Linked DNA regions of Homo sapiens: region 2 is linked to region 1. Evidence: promoter capture Hi-C in 16 types of primary human blood cells and fetal thymus (Javierre and others, 2016). All regions are on one chromosome and are shown on one strand. The core of a region is centred on a gene start or on the middle of the fragment in contact, and the rest is flanking DNA. Distances in the headings are between cores, read along the strand shown.

The links. The method cuts DNA at HindIII sites, captures the fragments that hold promoters and counts their contacts. A CHiCAGO score of 5 or more calls a contact.
Region 2: a fragment that was not itself captured here is called in contact with the fragment with the promoter of ANKFN1 in region 1 in 1 of 17 cell types (M0 macrophages); the score reaches 6.3 in M0 macrophages.

What each region holds. Positions count from the first base shown.
Region 1 is chr17:56,148,972-56,156,783 of GRCh38, forward strand. ANKFN1 (ankyrin repeat and fibronectin type III domain containing 1) reads left to right here and starts at 4,504. Exons shown (of 21, transcript NM_001370326.1): 1 at 4,504-4,559. The HindIII fragment of the contact is 1,365 bases long and covers 4,031-5,395 here.
Region 2 is chr17:56,711,627-56,719,438 of GRCh38, forward strand. No RefSeq gene overlaps it. Among named protein-coding and RNA genes, the nearest start is that of C17orf67, 120 kb to the right of the region's middle. The HindIII fragment of the contact is 917 bases long and covers 3,451-4,367 here.

The sequences.
Region 1 (7,812 bases), core at 3,254-5,753:
AGGTAACTGCAGGCAAGAGAGGTTATATAATTCATTCAGGTCACACGGGGAGCAAATGGCAGAGTCAAGACATAAACTTGGGTCTGTGTGATTCCAAAATATATTCTCTTTCTGTTGCCTGAAGGTAACTGGATAGGCTGTACATGGAGGCAGTGGCGGGGTGGGTGAGAGGGGGTAGTCTTTTCCGGTCATGTTTGTGTATTTTAATTTGAGATAATAAATAATAGGGAAGGAGATGACATGATGAAAGTGGTGTTTGGGGCAAGTGGGGAGAGACTGGAGGCAAGAAACCCCTTTTTCACAGGCCATGAATAGTAATAGGAATTTGAAATCTTGGGCACCTGGATAAAGGATGGTGGCTGTAGAAATAGAAAATGATGTCTTGGGATGAGTAAGCTCTGTAGAAAAATAACTGGTGAGACTTGAATCATAACTAAAGGAAAAGGAAGAGCTGAAATGGCACCAACGGCAAGTTCTCAGGAGGTACAGTCACAGTATCATCACTGTGAGAAAGGATATGAAAAGGGTTTTGAAGGCCAGCATTGTTTCCTCCTCAGGCTTAAACAGAGAGGGCTAGAGGCAGGGCAGCCACTGTGAATGACTGGGCCACATGCACTTGTGCCAGTGCCTTTACAGGTGGTCACAGGTAAAGAAAGAGCTTCCTTGGAAAGGAGAATTTCACCATTCTCAGTCCCTCCCCAGATGAGAAGCCTTGAGGTTATGCTGGCTAAGAGCTGGGAGAAGTATGCTTGAGGCCAGTGAGAAAAAGAAAAACCTGTGCTGAGCCACACATGTGTCTACACACCTGGCATGGCAATCCTGTTCTCCATGACGACATCCCTCCCTACCCCTCCACAAGCCCAGCCTCCCTGCAGGAGGATTCGGGAAGACTGCCTCTGGAGCTGTCCAGCTTCCAGGGTTGGAAGGAAGCCTTTATCAATCCCATCACCACTTCAAACAAAGCCATGCTTTCTGAGGAGGTGTAGATCTTATTATATTATTTTGTTTTCCATTCTTTTCTATCAGTTCACTGGATCACCCTCTCTTTTGCTGAGTAGCATGTTGACATTTTTTATGACTCTCTGTTACCCTAAGAATATTTCTACGTAAGTTTTTTGGCCTGAATTATTGACAACAGCTACAAATCCCTGCCTGCAGACACCTATGCACACACTGGAAAGTTCCATATAGGGCAAAGGTCACAAAGTGGCAGCCCAGAAACTAGATGTGGTCCACCAATATGTAATTTTCTTTGACCTACACAATGTTTGTTAACACTTGGAATCAACATGATTAAGTTGGGAAATTTCACACATTTTCACATTTCTAGCTTCTCTTAAAAATATGAAAAGACGTGGCAGTCCTGGGTCAGAACCCCACATGTCAGTAAGCAGCTGGAGCTGGGTTACCGATACCCCCTTTAGACGTAGCATTCGGTCCCTATTTTGCCACAGTCTCCACCACTCTTTATTACCTGACACAAAGCCCACTGCCCTCATTTGTCTCACTTAGCTGGCCTCTGTAGGCATTTAACTTTGAGATCCCAATGTGTGGTAATGGTATTGGTTTAAGCAGAAGCTAGTTGGTGCCCACAAGTTATAAATGCACTTGGGTAGTAGATACAACTGAATTCTAATTCCTTTCCCTTTCCTTTAGGCATTCTTCTGCTCATCACATTCTCTTCCCAAAATGCTCAGCACCTTATGATGAATGCCGAGCACCAAAATATCGTCCCTTCCTGCCACTGTAGTGTAACATAACCCCAGGTTAGCCTCCTTCCACCAAGACTCTCATTCCATGATGTCTCGCTTATCACTCCCTAGCCCAAGCAGAGTGACCTTGAGAGCTGACTCAGGGAGATATCAGTGACATTGCTGTCACTTGAGTCAATATTGGCAAAGGAAAGTGCAAGAGAAAGAATGTGATGAAGTAATTAGTTGATTATTTGGGAAAGGATTTGGGACACCGGGGAAGTGAATAGAGTGACCTGACCAGGTGGAATGATCAGCCTGGAGAGCTCACTCTGGGGACAGAGTGAGAGGCAGGATGGAGGGACAAGGACCTGACATGGGGAGCCCACTAGGGAAGTTGTGGCTGAGTGTTTCCAGGCTAAGAGTGTAGTCCCATCTCTGCTCACTCAGTGTGCAGCCACCTCTCTGGTCCTCAGTCTTCATCTGTGACCTCCTTATGACCTTATAGCATTGGTCCTCTATTACTCACTTTGGCACCTAACACCCTCTACCTGCTGTTTTCATCATGAAGGTGCAGTGAGGACAGGACCTGCTCCCTTTGGTTGGAATCTTCCCCTGGTTAGTGCTGTCAGCCATGCAAAGTTTGTATTGTGTCATCATCCCCTGAAGAAAATAAGAAGGGAATCTGGGTCCAGATATTCCCAAATGATATGAATGTCTAAAATGCTGGGTTTGTGGCTATGTGCCAGTTGTAATTTGTGCATTTTTTGGTAGTAGGTTTTGTTGGATTTAGATTAGTCTTTTTATAAAATAAGCAGCATGGTAGAGTGGAGAAAGTGCTGGGTTGGGGCTATTTCCAGCCTGTCTACTACTAGGAAACACGCCCTTAAATGGGGCCTCTTTAGAGTAGATGGGCTGACAAAGCCAAGGGTATTGAAAAGAAGAAATAAGCACGTACCATGCAAGCCTAACTGGGCCTTTTTGCAACTCTGAGTTTCTGGGGTTTCATAGCCACAATCTGACCAACAGCACCACTGAGAGAGCTGGTTTTTATCCATTAAATAAAAGCATTACTTCCGTTACTCTCAGCTACACTTACTGCAGTAAGCCTAAGTAACATTAAAGACCAAGTCACCTTCATCTTACATAGATTTTAAACTTTTTGAAGCGGGCAGATACTATACCTTCACCTTGACTTGAATCTTCCCTTGAGCTTAATGCAGCTGACACTCAACAAAACACTCACAAATTGACTCATTGCTGTTCAATTCTTGAGTATATGTATCATGCACTTCCTATGTAACAAGCGTTTTACTAAGTATTAAAGAGTTTTTTTTAAAGAAAAGGAATGAAGCATGGTGCCTTCCATCAAGGAGATTCCATTCTGGTAGAGGGCCATTCCTGTGATTATGTACACATGCAGCAACAACTAAATCCATTTGATAAGCATTCTGAGGAAAAACTGTAAAAAGTACTATGGAAGCTGAGGTTGGGGATAGTAATGGAAAGTTCCTGGGGTAACTGATGCCAGAGCTAAGCCTTGGAAGATGAGTAATATAAGAAGCTCACCATCTTGCAGGGAAATATATATATATATATATGTGTGTGTGTGTGTGTGTGTGTGTGTGTGTGTGTGTGTGTTTAATTTTTCTGAGTGCCTCACTGTAACTCAGTACGAATATCCTCACTCCATGTTAAGCCCAGATCACCTGCAGAGATACCTATTATTACTTCTTTTCATTTACTTGTCTTTTTTTTTCCTATTGTATAGTAGCAGCAACATTTAGATAGAGAGTTCCCTTGAATTCTCTATTTTTAAAAAAGCAATTAGACATTCATGATCAAGGGTAATGGGGCTCTGGGCTCAAGTCCTCTATTTTGTTCCCATTCATCTGTGGGTCAATAGGTAAGCCACATCTGCTGAGCCTCAACTGCTTCAAAGTACTCATCCTTGCTGGACAGGCAAGTTGCTGGAAACAAGTTTTCCTTCAGCAACCATTCAGGTGGCAAATGTTTTATTGAACATCTACACTGTGCCAGGCACTAGGTGAGGAATCAGGGTCCAATCAAACTCTCCAAACCACTGCTCAACATACTCCTCCTTTGACAAATGGGTTTTCAAAATAAGCATGCACATAATGTGCCTCCTTTGGCACACTTCCCAAGAGATTTCACTCTGAAAAGAAAGGCCAGCCTCAGCCCTTAAAGTGCAGGCCAAATAAAAACTTGCTTGACTATCAAGATTATATTATCATCTCCCCTCCAGTTCCCACCAGACTTCTAGGAAACAGCCAGACAGCTCCTCCAACCAATCCAGTAGCCAAAATAATCCATTCCAAAGCTTCAACTGAGCATCTTAATGAAATAATTGTTTACCTGATTAGTATTCAGCATCCGCAGAAGGAGGCTAAAACCCACCCCTTTCAACCTTTCCTCTCTCAGTCTCACTCTCTCTTTCCTTCCCACCCTGTCTCCTTTCAGATATACTTTCGAATCCCACCCCTTTCAGGGGCACAAAGACCAACTCAAATCTGATCGCAGCATTATCAATCAACTTATTCCCTCCCCACCGGGCACCTCCTAAGATATTTTTCACCATTTCTTTCATTCTTTGAAAACGATTTCTTTGTCACCAAGCCTGTGTGGCACTTCCCCTGCCTCTCCTCTTGACCCTGCACTGTAATCTGGACACTCCTGGAGCCAAGCCGTGGGAGAGGCAGCCATGCTCAGTCTCCCTGGATAAAGCCAGGGTTCCCTTGGCAACGGGACCGTGTGGACATTCGCAAAGGGGTTTCCCTCCACCCCCCAGGTCCTCTTTCAACTCAAGAGCTCAGTCCTGTGTCTCTCATGGAGGCGTCTCTAACCAGGGTAGGAAAACAATAGTTCTAAATATCGGTAATTGGTGTTTGGAGGCCATTGTTTTGCATTCAACAGGCAGGAAAATGTGAGTTGAGTGGGCGAGTGAATTCGGGCGTTAGCTGGTGAGCATCCATGGTCAGGCAGAGGGAAAGCTGGTTTCATTTCTGTAAACAGGCAAATGTTGATCTGAAGTAGTTTGGGTCTGTAATGTGTGTCTTTGTCTTTTGGGAGGTGGGAGAATGGGGAGATTAAAGGAGAGAGGCTTCTAGAGACAAGTTTTTACTTTATGGTCTGTTTTCTCTTTTATCCTTATCATTTTATTTATATAAAGCAAGGAAACCAGGGATTACTTGTCTCCATGTTAATGCCAACTCTTGCTCATGATTTCTGACTGTTCACACGCTCTCACTGTCTCCCACATGGATTCTCTCCTTCTCTCTCTCTCACTTTTTATGGACTTTATTGTCATGATGATGGAGAAGTAAAATTTTTTCTAAAGTTGGAAGTGGATTTTTTTTTTGTAAGAGGTCATCTCTGAAGAGCTGAGCCAGGGCTAGGCAGGACAGAACTGATTGACACATACTAACCCTGTGGGTTGTGTCGGTGGTATCGGAATCCCTGTTACTGACCCAGATTGGTCCAGAAGACCTCAAATGTGCCTTTGGTTGATGGAGGAAATGCCTGTTATTGACTTGGTTAATACTAATCACAGGTTTCTACAATAATTCAGAAGGTTATTATTGAAGTCCTGGCTGAGGTCCTGGTAGGGGATACTAATAGGAGGAACTTATTCAGCTACTTCACTTCCCCTCAGGAGTTCAGAGTAGGTGAGGACCTTACCAAAAAGCTTTTCAGGAATGAACCTGAAGCTTAAGACCTTTGAAAAAACCAGAGATAAGTGCAAGTAAGGCATGAAAGGAGGAGGCCAGAGCACCGTTCAGTTTTCCTTTCCTTTTCTCTCTTTTCCTTCCTTTCTTTCTTTTTCCTTCCTTCCTTATAAAATCACATCCAGAGTGAGGCCTAAGCATAACTGCTTATGGAACCTCTGAGAAGGTATCTTGAAGTACTTGCTGAGTTTAAACTGGCTACTGCATTAACCTATTAACCAATATGCCAACACCAAAAAAAAAAAAAAAAACTTATTCCTTTTACTATGTATTCAAACTTTCAGTAAACCCTTTGGGGACAGGAACTATACAGTTTTCAATATTTTGCCCCTGATTCTAACCAGTTAGGGGCCAGGTACATTTGGGGGGCTCCATTCATGGTTGTAGAATTGAATTGAATGAACAGTGTGGGGTATGATTACCATTTGTTCCATGAAGTGTAGAGCTAGGACTAGTCTTGTGGTCAGAAGACTTAGGCTCTAGGCTCAGGTCTGACACTAATTAGTGGCAGAACTTCGACCATACTATTTCAGTTCTCTAACACTCAGTTTCTTCATCCATGAAGTGACAGAGTTTAAACGAGAACAGTGTTTTCCCAACAAAAGTAGTTATCTAAAGCCTTCATGCCCCCCTCAACCCTGGGGGATAGGAGGGTTTGGGAGAGGGAGGCCCGTCTGGTCAAGAACAGCTGCTGCAAAAAGGAACATGGCAGACAGAGGAGGAAGTAGAGCAAAAAGTGGCTCAGAGACTGGAAGCTGGAAAATGCTGGACCTTAGAGGACTCCTCAGGTCCCTTGTAACTCTGACATTTATTCAGAGTCATGAGACTTATCTCTCCCAGTTTTGTGTCACCTCTCCTGTATTAGGTACTTTTGAAGATGACACAAAGCAGTACTGTCATTTGTTCTGATATAGGCAAGCAAGCTACCTTTCTTCCATGAGACAAGGCTTCTCACTGCTGAGAGGTCTGAATCTCTGCCCTTGGAATGTGCCAAGCAGCTGGTCCTAAGCCAGCCACGCTCTGTCTCTTCATTCCAATATAGTCTTTCATTTATTCGACAATCAACAGGTAATTATTGAAAGCCAATAACTTTCCTTTTTTCTGGATAGCGTGGTCAGGAAGGTTCTCTTTGAGGAGGTGACAGTTAAGCTGAGGCACCAATTAAGTGAAGGAATAAGCTGTGCTTACAGTGGGAGAATAGCACTGGCTTGAGTCTGAGGACCCCCGTAAGTATGAGGCTCTTGATTTGGGGAGTCAGCTTGGCATGTCTTAAGGCAAAGCAAGGTGCCTGGGGCAGAAACAGAGTGAAGCAGAGAGGAGAGGTCAGAAGGTTGGAGTGAGATGACACAGATCACAGGGGCCTTGTAGGTCATGATAGGGACCAATGGGAAGCCATTGGATAAATTTTTACATAGAAATAATTATATCTGATCACTCCAGCAAATGCGCAGAGGATAGTGTTCTATAGATGATATCTGCAAAGTGGTTGGTTAGAGTGAAGGGCTTGGAAACTAAGCAGCCTACGTGGGAAGTCACATGGTGTCTGGGAAACTTGGATGTGGTTGGATAGGCCTGGATTTGAATCCTGATCTTGAGGCTGACCTATTGTGTAATTTGGGCAAGTTATTTAACTTCCCTCTTCTCCATTTCCTCATCTCTCTCTCACTCTTTTTTTTTTTTTTTTTCCTTGAGATAGAGTCTCACTCTGTCACCCAGGCTGGAGTGCAGTGGTGCAATCTTGGCTCACTACAACCTCCACCTCCAGAGTTCAAGCAATTCTCATGCCTCAACCTCTCGAGTAGTTGGGACTACAGGCATGCACCAACACTCCAGGCTAATTTTTTTGTTGTTGTATTTTTAGTAGAGACAGGGTTTCACTATGTTGGCCAGACTTGTCTCAAACTCCTGGCCTCAAGTGGTCCACCCACCTTGGCCTCCCAAAGTGCTGGGATTGCAGGTGTGAGCCACCACGCCCAGCCTGTTTCCTCACCTCTTAAAGAGGGACCACATTATCTACCTCAATGAGTTGTGAAGATGAAAGCAGAGAGATTACATATGTTATCTCAAAGCAGCTGCTTAAAATGATAGTGTTATTGTCCAAACTAATCCCATGACCTTTGCACTATGGGCCACAGATGAGCAAGACAACTGGAAACGTAAGATGCATGGTGGGTTTCATATATTATCCTCTTTATACCTTGCTCCCTTTGGGAACGTGGGAGGTGGAAAAGGAAGGAGTAAGGTGACTTGTGCCAAGTCTTGCAGCTGGTTAAGGTCAGGGCTGTGTCTAGGGGCCAGGTTCTTTGTTCCTGCCTCATGTTCTTTCTTTTACGCTTAGAGTTAGCAAACTACAGCCCCACAGGGCAATCCTAGCT
Region 2 (7,812 bases), core at 2,659-5,158, 560 kb after region 1:
GATCAACTCTGACTTAGAACATAATTTGTGTGTTGTTTTTGTTTGTTTGTTTACAGACAGGATCTTGCTCTGTTGCCCATCCTGTGGCACCATCATGGCTCACTGCAGCCTTCAATTCCTGGGCCCAAGCAATCCTCCCGCCTCAGCCTCCCCAGTAGCTGGGACTACAGGTGTGCACTACCATGGTTGGCTATTTTTTTTTTTTTCAGAGATGGGGTCTTTTTATGTTGCCTAGGCTGGTCTCAAACTCCTGACCCTGAACGATCCTCCTTCCTCAGTCTTCCAAGGTGCTGGGATTATAGGTGCAAGCCACCGCACTGGGTCTACCATTCTTTACAGTGAGAAAAACGTGTGTCCCTTGAGCTTCCACTGTCTTTGGCCCCAATCTTAAGTACAGAGAAAAGAAAGCTCCTGCTGTCCTGTAGGAGGTCAGCTGTCTGTAGTGGGTGGAATGGTGGCCCCCAAAGATATGTCCACGTCCCAGAACATCTGAATGTTGCCATATTTGGAAAAAGGGTCTCCAAAGATATAATTAAGTATCCCCATGTGAAATCATCCTGAGATTATCCAGGTAGGCCCTAAATCCAATGACAATACATGTATAAGAAACACACAGAGAAGGCATGCTGGGAGAAGACAAGACGCTGTAAAGATGGAGGCAGAGACTGGAGTGATGCAGCCTCAAGCCAAGCAAGGCCTGCAGCCACCAGAGGCTGGAAGAAGCAAGGAAGGATCCCTGCCGAGATGGTTTGGATTTGCGTCCCCACCCAAATCTCATGTCAAATTGGAGGAGTGGCCAGGTGGGAGGTGACTGGATCACAGATTTCCCCCTTGCTGTTCTCATGATAGCGAGTTCTCACAACATCGGATGGTTTAAAAGTGTGTGGCACTTCCCCCTTCACTCTCTCCTACCGCCATGTGAAGAAGGTGCTGGGTTCCCTTCACCTTCCGTCATGATTGTAAGTTTCCTGAGGCCTCCCAGTCATGCTTCCTGTTAAGCCGGTGGAACTGTGAGTCAATGAAACCTCATTTCTTCATAAATTACCCAGTTTCAGGTAGTTCTTTAGAGCAGTTAGCAGAGACTAACACATCCTGCTGGAGCCATTGGAGGGAGTCTGGCCTTGCCGACACCTTGATTTCAGACTTCTGGCCTCCTGAACTGTGAGGGAACAAATTTCTGTTGTAAGCCACTCGATCTGCAGTTATTTGTCACAACAGCCCTAGGAAACAAATATATCGTCCATTCCACAGTGCTCCTGCCCCAGGCTCCTGCCTTGTGGAGCTGTAGAAAGAACAAGCGCTTCAAAGTAGGCTCTGAATCTGACTCTGCCAGTGAGTATCTGAGTAAATTGTCCTACAAGGGATAAAAAAGTATTGAATTTTTTATTTCCATTTATGTAATTACAACTGACAATCTAGGCCAACATGTATCTCCTTGAAAAAGAAGGAAAATTAAAAGGAAAGATGACTTATAAGTCCAGAAACAAGAAAATGCAAGTGATATTTTCCAGAAGGGTCACATGAATTATCCCGTAAGTATAAGGTGAACATGTTGTTTGCACCAAGAGAGTCGCTGAGGTGGGAAAAGGCCAATGAATAACATCATCTCTCAAGAAAAAAAAATGGTACAGTGCTCTATAGTGGCATAGAGATGTCCACATACCCCCCACAGAAACCCTGGCAAACCCTTGTGTGATTCCTAGAACCATACTTTTCTGTACCCTATTAACTCATATGTAAAATGGGGACAACTATCTCTACCTTACAGGGTTGTTTAGAGGATTAGAAATAATAACTAGAAAATGCCTAGCTCGGGTTTAACAACAGAGGGAATCATCAAGTCCTGTTGGGCTCCAGGAATTGAGCCGAACACAGGCCTCTTCCTTGCTCAGATTCCTGTGTAGCCTGGTCCTGACATTTGGGGACAAGATGGGATGCCTGGAGTTTTGAGGAGAGGAGCCAGCTCTAAAGGGAGTGAATTTGAGAAAGATTCCCAACTAGGAGGCAGTGTTCATCTTGGCCAAAAGGCCTGGAGCATCCAGGAGTCCCCTTGGAAAAAACCTGGGGTCCACTTTCTTCCGAAAAATCAAGCAAACATTTGATTCTTTTCAGATATTTTCTATTTGATTATTTAGACAAAGAGAATATGGGGAGTTGAGGGAAGAGAAGGAAGAGCATCTTCATGAAGTCCCAGCAGAAGGGTCAGACCCGCAAAGAGGCCACAGGATGGGCAGGACAACCTCAAGTGACTCTTTTTTCCATTTATGGGGGGACAAGCTCTTGCTCTGTCACCGAGGCTGGAGTGCAGGGGCACAATTATAGCTCACTGCAGCCTCAAACTCCTGGAATCGAGCGATCCTCCTGCCTCAGCCTCCCAAGTAGCTGGGACCACAAGCATGCATCACCACACCAGGTTATTGTTTTCATGTTTCATACAGATGACATCCCACCATGTTGCCCAGGTTGGTCTTGAACTCTTGGCCTCAAGTGATCCTCTCGCCTCGGCCTCCCAAAGTGCTAGGATTACAGGCATGAGCTACCATACCCAGCCCCTTTTTTGAGGTTGCAGGGAAGAGTATAAAGAGCAAGAAGTCGTAGGGATTCCAGGTAGTTGGGAAAAGAAGATGGGAATTACCAGTCTGGGCAAAGAGACATAGGAAGGCTAAGAATCCAGGGGCCACAGGAGGTGGGAAATGTGTAGGATGCAAAACAGGCAGTCAAAAGTCCCAGATCCCAAAGGCCGCCCTGAGGGCACCTGAAAACACTCAGCTCAAGTCTGATCTTCGCCAGGCTGACCCCTCTCTTGCCTGGACCTCCCCTTCTAAGTAACCCCCTTGGGGCTCCTGAGGGTCCGAGGCTGATGGCTGCAGAAGTAGGAGGCACCTTGGAGCACCTACAAGTACAGAGATGGGCCAGGCAGACCTCAGCCTGTCAATCAGTGGAAGAGGTAGGTTTAAATCTAGGTACCCAACTCCAGATCCCATACTCTGAACAAGGATACTGGGTGTTCCCTCCTCATCTATAAAATGAGGACAATAACACCTTTCTCACAGGCTGTTTTGGGAATTAGAAACAACCCACTCACCTTCCCTAGCACATCCTAGACCATACACCAAAGCTTTCATCATGGCCAGTGGGACCATGCCTGGGCCACATTCCCATCAGTTTCTGCTATAATTTGGATATTTGTCCCCACCCAAATATCATGTTGAAATGTAATCCCCAATGTTGGAAGTAGAGCCTGGTGGGAGGTGTTTGGATCATAGCGGTGGATCCCTCATGCATGGTTTAGGCCATCCCTTTGGTGCTAAGTGTGCTCCTCTCCGAGTTCACAGGAGAGTCCAGTCATTTAAAAGCGTGCGACACCTCCTTCCCCGCACTCTCACTCTCTGGCTCCTGCTTTCACCATGTGAAATACCTGCTCCCTCTTCGTCTTCCGCCATGACTGTAAGCTTCCTAAGGCATTCCCATGCCTCCTGTAAAGCCTGTGGAACTGGGAGCCAATTAAAACTCTTTTCTTCATAAATTACCCAGTCACAGATACTTCTTTATAGCAACACAAGAACAGCCTCATATTGTCTCCCAGGATGTCAATGGCTGGGCACTCACTTTGTTAATGCTGTGTTATACTCTCATTCTACTAAATGGTAATGCCTTTCCTATATCTCCCATTGTCTTACACAGGGCCAAAAAATATTGATTTTTTAAATTTCCATTTATGCAATGACAACAGTCAATCCAGGCCAAAACATGCTTGAAAAATGAGGAAAATGAAAAGATGACTTATAAGTCCAGAAACAAGAAGATGCAGGTGATATTTACCAGAGGGGCCACATGAATTATCCCATAACTATAAGGTGAGCATACTGTTTCCACCTAGAGAATCGCTGAGGTGGGTAAAGGTCAATGCATAATGTCATCTCTCAAGAAAAGAAATGGTACAGTGCCCTACGGTAGCATAGAGGGGCCCACATCCCTCACAGGACCCTGGCAAACCCGAGTTCTTTAAAACTTGGCCCAGGGGCCTGTCATTGCACAGGCATTTTCCAGACAATCTATCCCCACCCAGTCCAGGTAAGGTAGAGGCTGGAAGGGAGCTGTGCAACTCACAGGCGAGGCCTCACTTCCTTTGAACCCCAAGAATCTGAAGATTTGGAATCAAGCAGACCTGGCTTCAAGTCCCTGGCTCTTCAACCTGTAACTGAGAACCTAGCTCCAATTATTTATAATAAATTCTCTGAGCCCTCAGTTGAATGGAGATGACAACTTTCTTGGGCTGTTTAGAGCCCAAATGAGGTGACTTGTGGAAACACAGTTTAGACAGATGGCAGGACTCAAGGACTGGTAGCTCTTATTTCAACAGGGCAAGCTTTTTTCCTGATCAAGTCTAGCGTTTCCCAGGCCGATGCTGTAAGACTATACGTTGGGCCAACAGCACCACCTGGTGGTCAGTATAAGATCTGGCAAATCTCGCCCGGGGCTTCAGACCTAGTCTGGTCCTAGGGAGGCTGGCGTCACACACACAAAAAAAGACTGTCCCATAAAGAGGAACCTGGTTGAAAGAGGCCCCACAGTCAGGAAGGAAGCATAACCTGACCTATTTTCTTCCCTAAGAGAAGAAAACCTGGTAGTGTCCAAGAAACTGAACACTGGGTTCCATCCACCTTAGGTAAGACATTTCACTTCTCTGAGCTTCCATTTCTTTATTTGTATAATGAAAACAATGATACTTTATTTGTAAGTATCAAAAATGAAATAAATCTAGGTCTAGTGGCAGGCATCTAGTGAACACTCATGGCAATTTTTTATGTTTAGGAAGCAACTGCATGTGTCTGATCCCTAAAAGCTTTACCTAATCTTTAGACAACATTATGTCTTGTGTGTTTGGGGCAAGTTTTCAAGAAGAAACACTCAGTAGCGAGCCCTCTCCTGGGCCCAGCTCCCTACCTCTGAAGCCACCCTCTGCCTCTGGGGCCACTGCTTCAGGGTCAGACCTGCTTGGGGAGCACCTGTGAGAAGCTAGGGTTCTCGGGCACTGGCAAAGAAGGAGATCACCCATTCATTCATTCATCTAACAAAAGCACTGAACATTTGAGATACAAGGATGGTTTTGACATGGCTCCTGTCCCCAAGGAGCTTGCATTCTAACCGAGACAGCAGAATAATAAAGAAATACTTAATTGCTGACCAGGCGCAGTGGCTCGCACCTGTAATTCCAGTACTTTGAGAGGCCAAGGTGGGCGGATCACCTGAGGTTGGGAGTTGAGACCAGCCTGATCACCATGGAGAAACCCCGTCTCCAATAAAAATACAAAAAATTAGCTGGGCGTGGTGGCGCATGCCTGTAATCCCAGCTACTCGGGAGGCTGAGGTAGGAGAATCGCTTGAACCCGGGAGACCGAGGTTGTGGTGAGCAGAGATTGCGCCATTGCACTCCAGCCTGGGCAACAAGAGTGAAACTCTGTCTCAAAAAAAAAAAAAAAAAAAGAAAGAAAGAAAGAGAGAGAGAGAGAGAGAAAGAAATATTGAATTGCGACAGGCCAGGTACTCTGACAGAAATGTGTACTGTTTAGAAAGATAGCACAGAGGAGAAAGTAGCCAATTCATCCTGGGGGAGTCTGATGGATCGAACATTTCAACAAACACAGGAAAGAACCTACCAAGCGTGGAGCACAATGGGAGGACCTGGAGATTCAAGGATGAGTAAAACCCAATCCCTTGCCCAAAGAGGTTGTGGTCAACCCGGGTAAGGGAAAGATGCAGAGAGAACATGATGTGTGGTCTGGGACTGCAGGGGTGTTGGTTAGGGGAGCTTGAGGCAAAGTGAACAGCCTGAGCAAAGAAAGACTTAGAGTAGAGACGGAGCAGTGTCCACCAAGTGCCTTCTCCACACTCATCCTTTGTGTCTTCTGAGGTGCTTCCTCTGCTTTGGGATTCAGGAAATGCAATTTTTAAAATTCAATGCCATTTTTTAAGCCTGCTTATCCTCCACTCTGGTCCCTTTTCCCTGGGGTTGCAGATGTGCAAGGCCTGAATCACATCACCCAGAACATGCCCAGGCAAGCCCACTCCCTACTTATGTTGCCCTGGCACGGGCGACACCTCCATCCCCAACCCCCTCGGTTGTGAATCCTCTCTCCAAGGTGAACTTCTCACCAATGGCCTGGGACAGCTTCCCCAAGTGTCTACACCACTGTCCTCCCTCAACCCCCAAACTACCTGAGGCTCCAGTGTCCTTCTGCCCTACCAGCTGGAGGAGGCTGGGATGGAGGGCCATGTTATAAGGGTGCTATGGTAGAAGAGGGGCCCACAGGTTCTAGGTGCCCTTGCTGATCAGTTCCAAGAGAAGTGAGTGGAAACTACCACCCAGGCAGCTTCATTTCCTGAGAGCCTACTGTGTTCATTCACTCTTCAGTGGCAGCCGAGCAAGGCAATTAAGGGCTTAGGGCCTGGATTTCACATCCAAGTTGTATCACTTCCTGGCTGGGTGGGCTTGGATAAGTCACTTCGACTCTCAGTGCCTCCATTTCTTTTTCTGTAAAGTGTAGACTAGGGCTTTTGTGAAGATTAAATAACATAAAGTACTTAGAAGGCTGCCTGGTACAGAGCAAGAGCTCATTAACCATTAGCTATTGTACAACAATAATTATTTCTTGAGCATCTACCATGAGCCAGGACTGAAGCTGCAGCTGTGAACCAAAAAGACCTGGTCGAGAGACAAGCCATGAAAGTAAGACACAAATGTTGCTATAATCACCACTGTGATGGGCGTTATGAAGAAAATGGGTAGTATTAATGGAGAAAATAAAAGGAATAAAGAGAGGCAATGGAATTGTTAATATTTTGGGGGTAGTGAAATTTAAGCTGAGACCGAAAGGATGTGTAGGAATGAAATGAGGAGCTGTAGGAATGGATGCCAAGGTCCTGAGGCAGCCAAGAACACTGAGCCATCAGGAACTGGAGGGAGAGGGCCAGTGTGGCTGCCTTGCAGTGAACAAGAGAGAAAGGACCCTCCAGCTAGGGCTGGAGAGGCAGGTAGAAGTCGGCTGCACCTGGGCCCTAAGGCTCGAGGAAATGAGCACTTTACTCTCAGTCAGTGGGAAACCAGTGACGTGTTTCCTGACAAGGTATACTTTCACACGTGACTTAATTTACATTTTCAGAAGATCACTCTGCTGATTACCATAAGAATAGAACTGGGGGCATCAGAAGTGAAGTGATTATAAATAGGGAGGTGGCCAGGGCTAGTGCAGGGACACTGGAGATACACCTGCAGATATAATCAATGAATATGGTGACAGAACAGATACCAGAGATAAGGGAGAGGGAGGATGAAGATCACATTTAACCTGGGGAGAGACTGAAGGAGGCACAGATGTCAAGCAAGACCAAGAATCAACTTTAGAGATGCAAATGTGGAATTCCAAAGAAATGTACATTTAGGAGCAATACGTCTAAGAGTGAGAGCACATAGATTTCATGTCAAGTCATGGGAATGAACAAAATTACTTGGGGAGAAATTATAGAGAGAGAATAGAAGTGGGATCAGGATTAAAGACTTCAACATTTAGAAAGCAAGTAGAGAAACAAGAACTGGCAAAAGAGATCGAGGAGAAGCCAAAGAGATAAGGAAAACCAGGAGAAACTCATGTTTCAAAAAGGAGGCAATGGGCCACAGGGTCTATAGCTACTTCCACGTTAAGTAAGATGAAGACAAATAAGAAGCTATTGGATGGGTATGTTGGCTGACGCCTGTAATCCCAGCACTTTAGGAGGCTTCAGCCCAGGCGTTTGAGAGCCAGCCTGGACAAC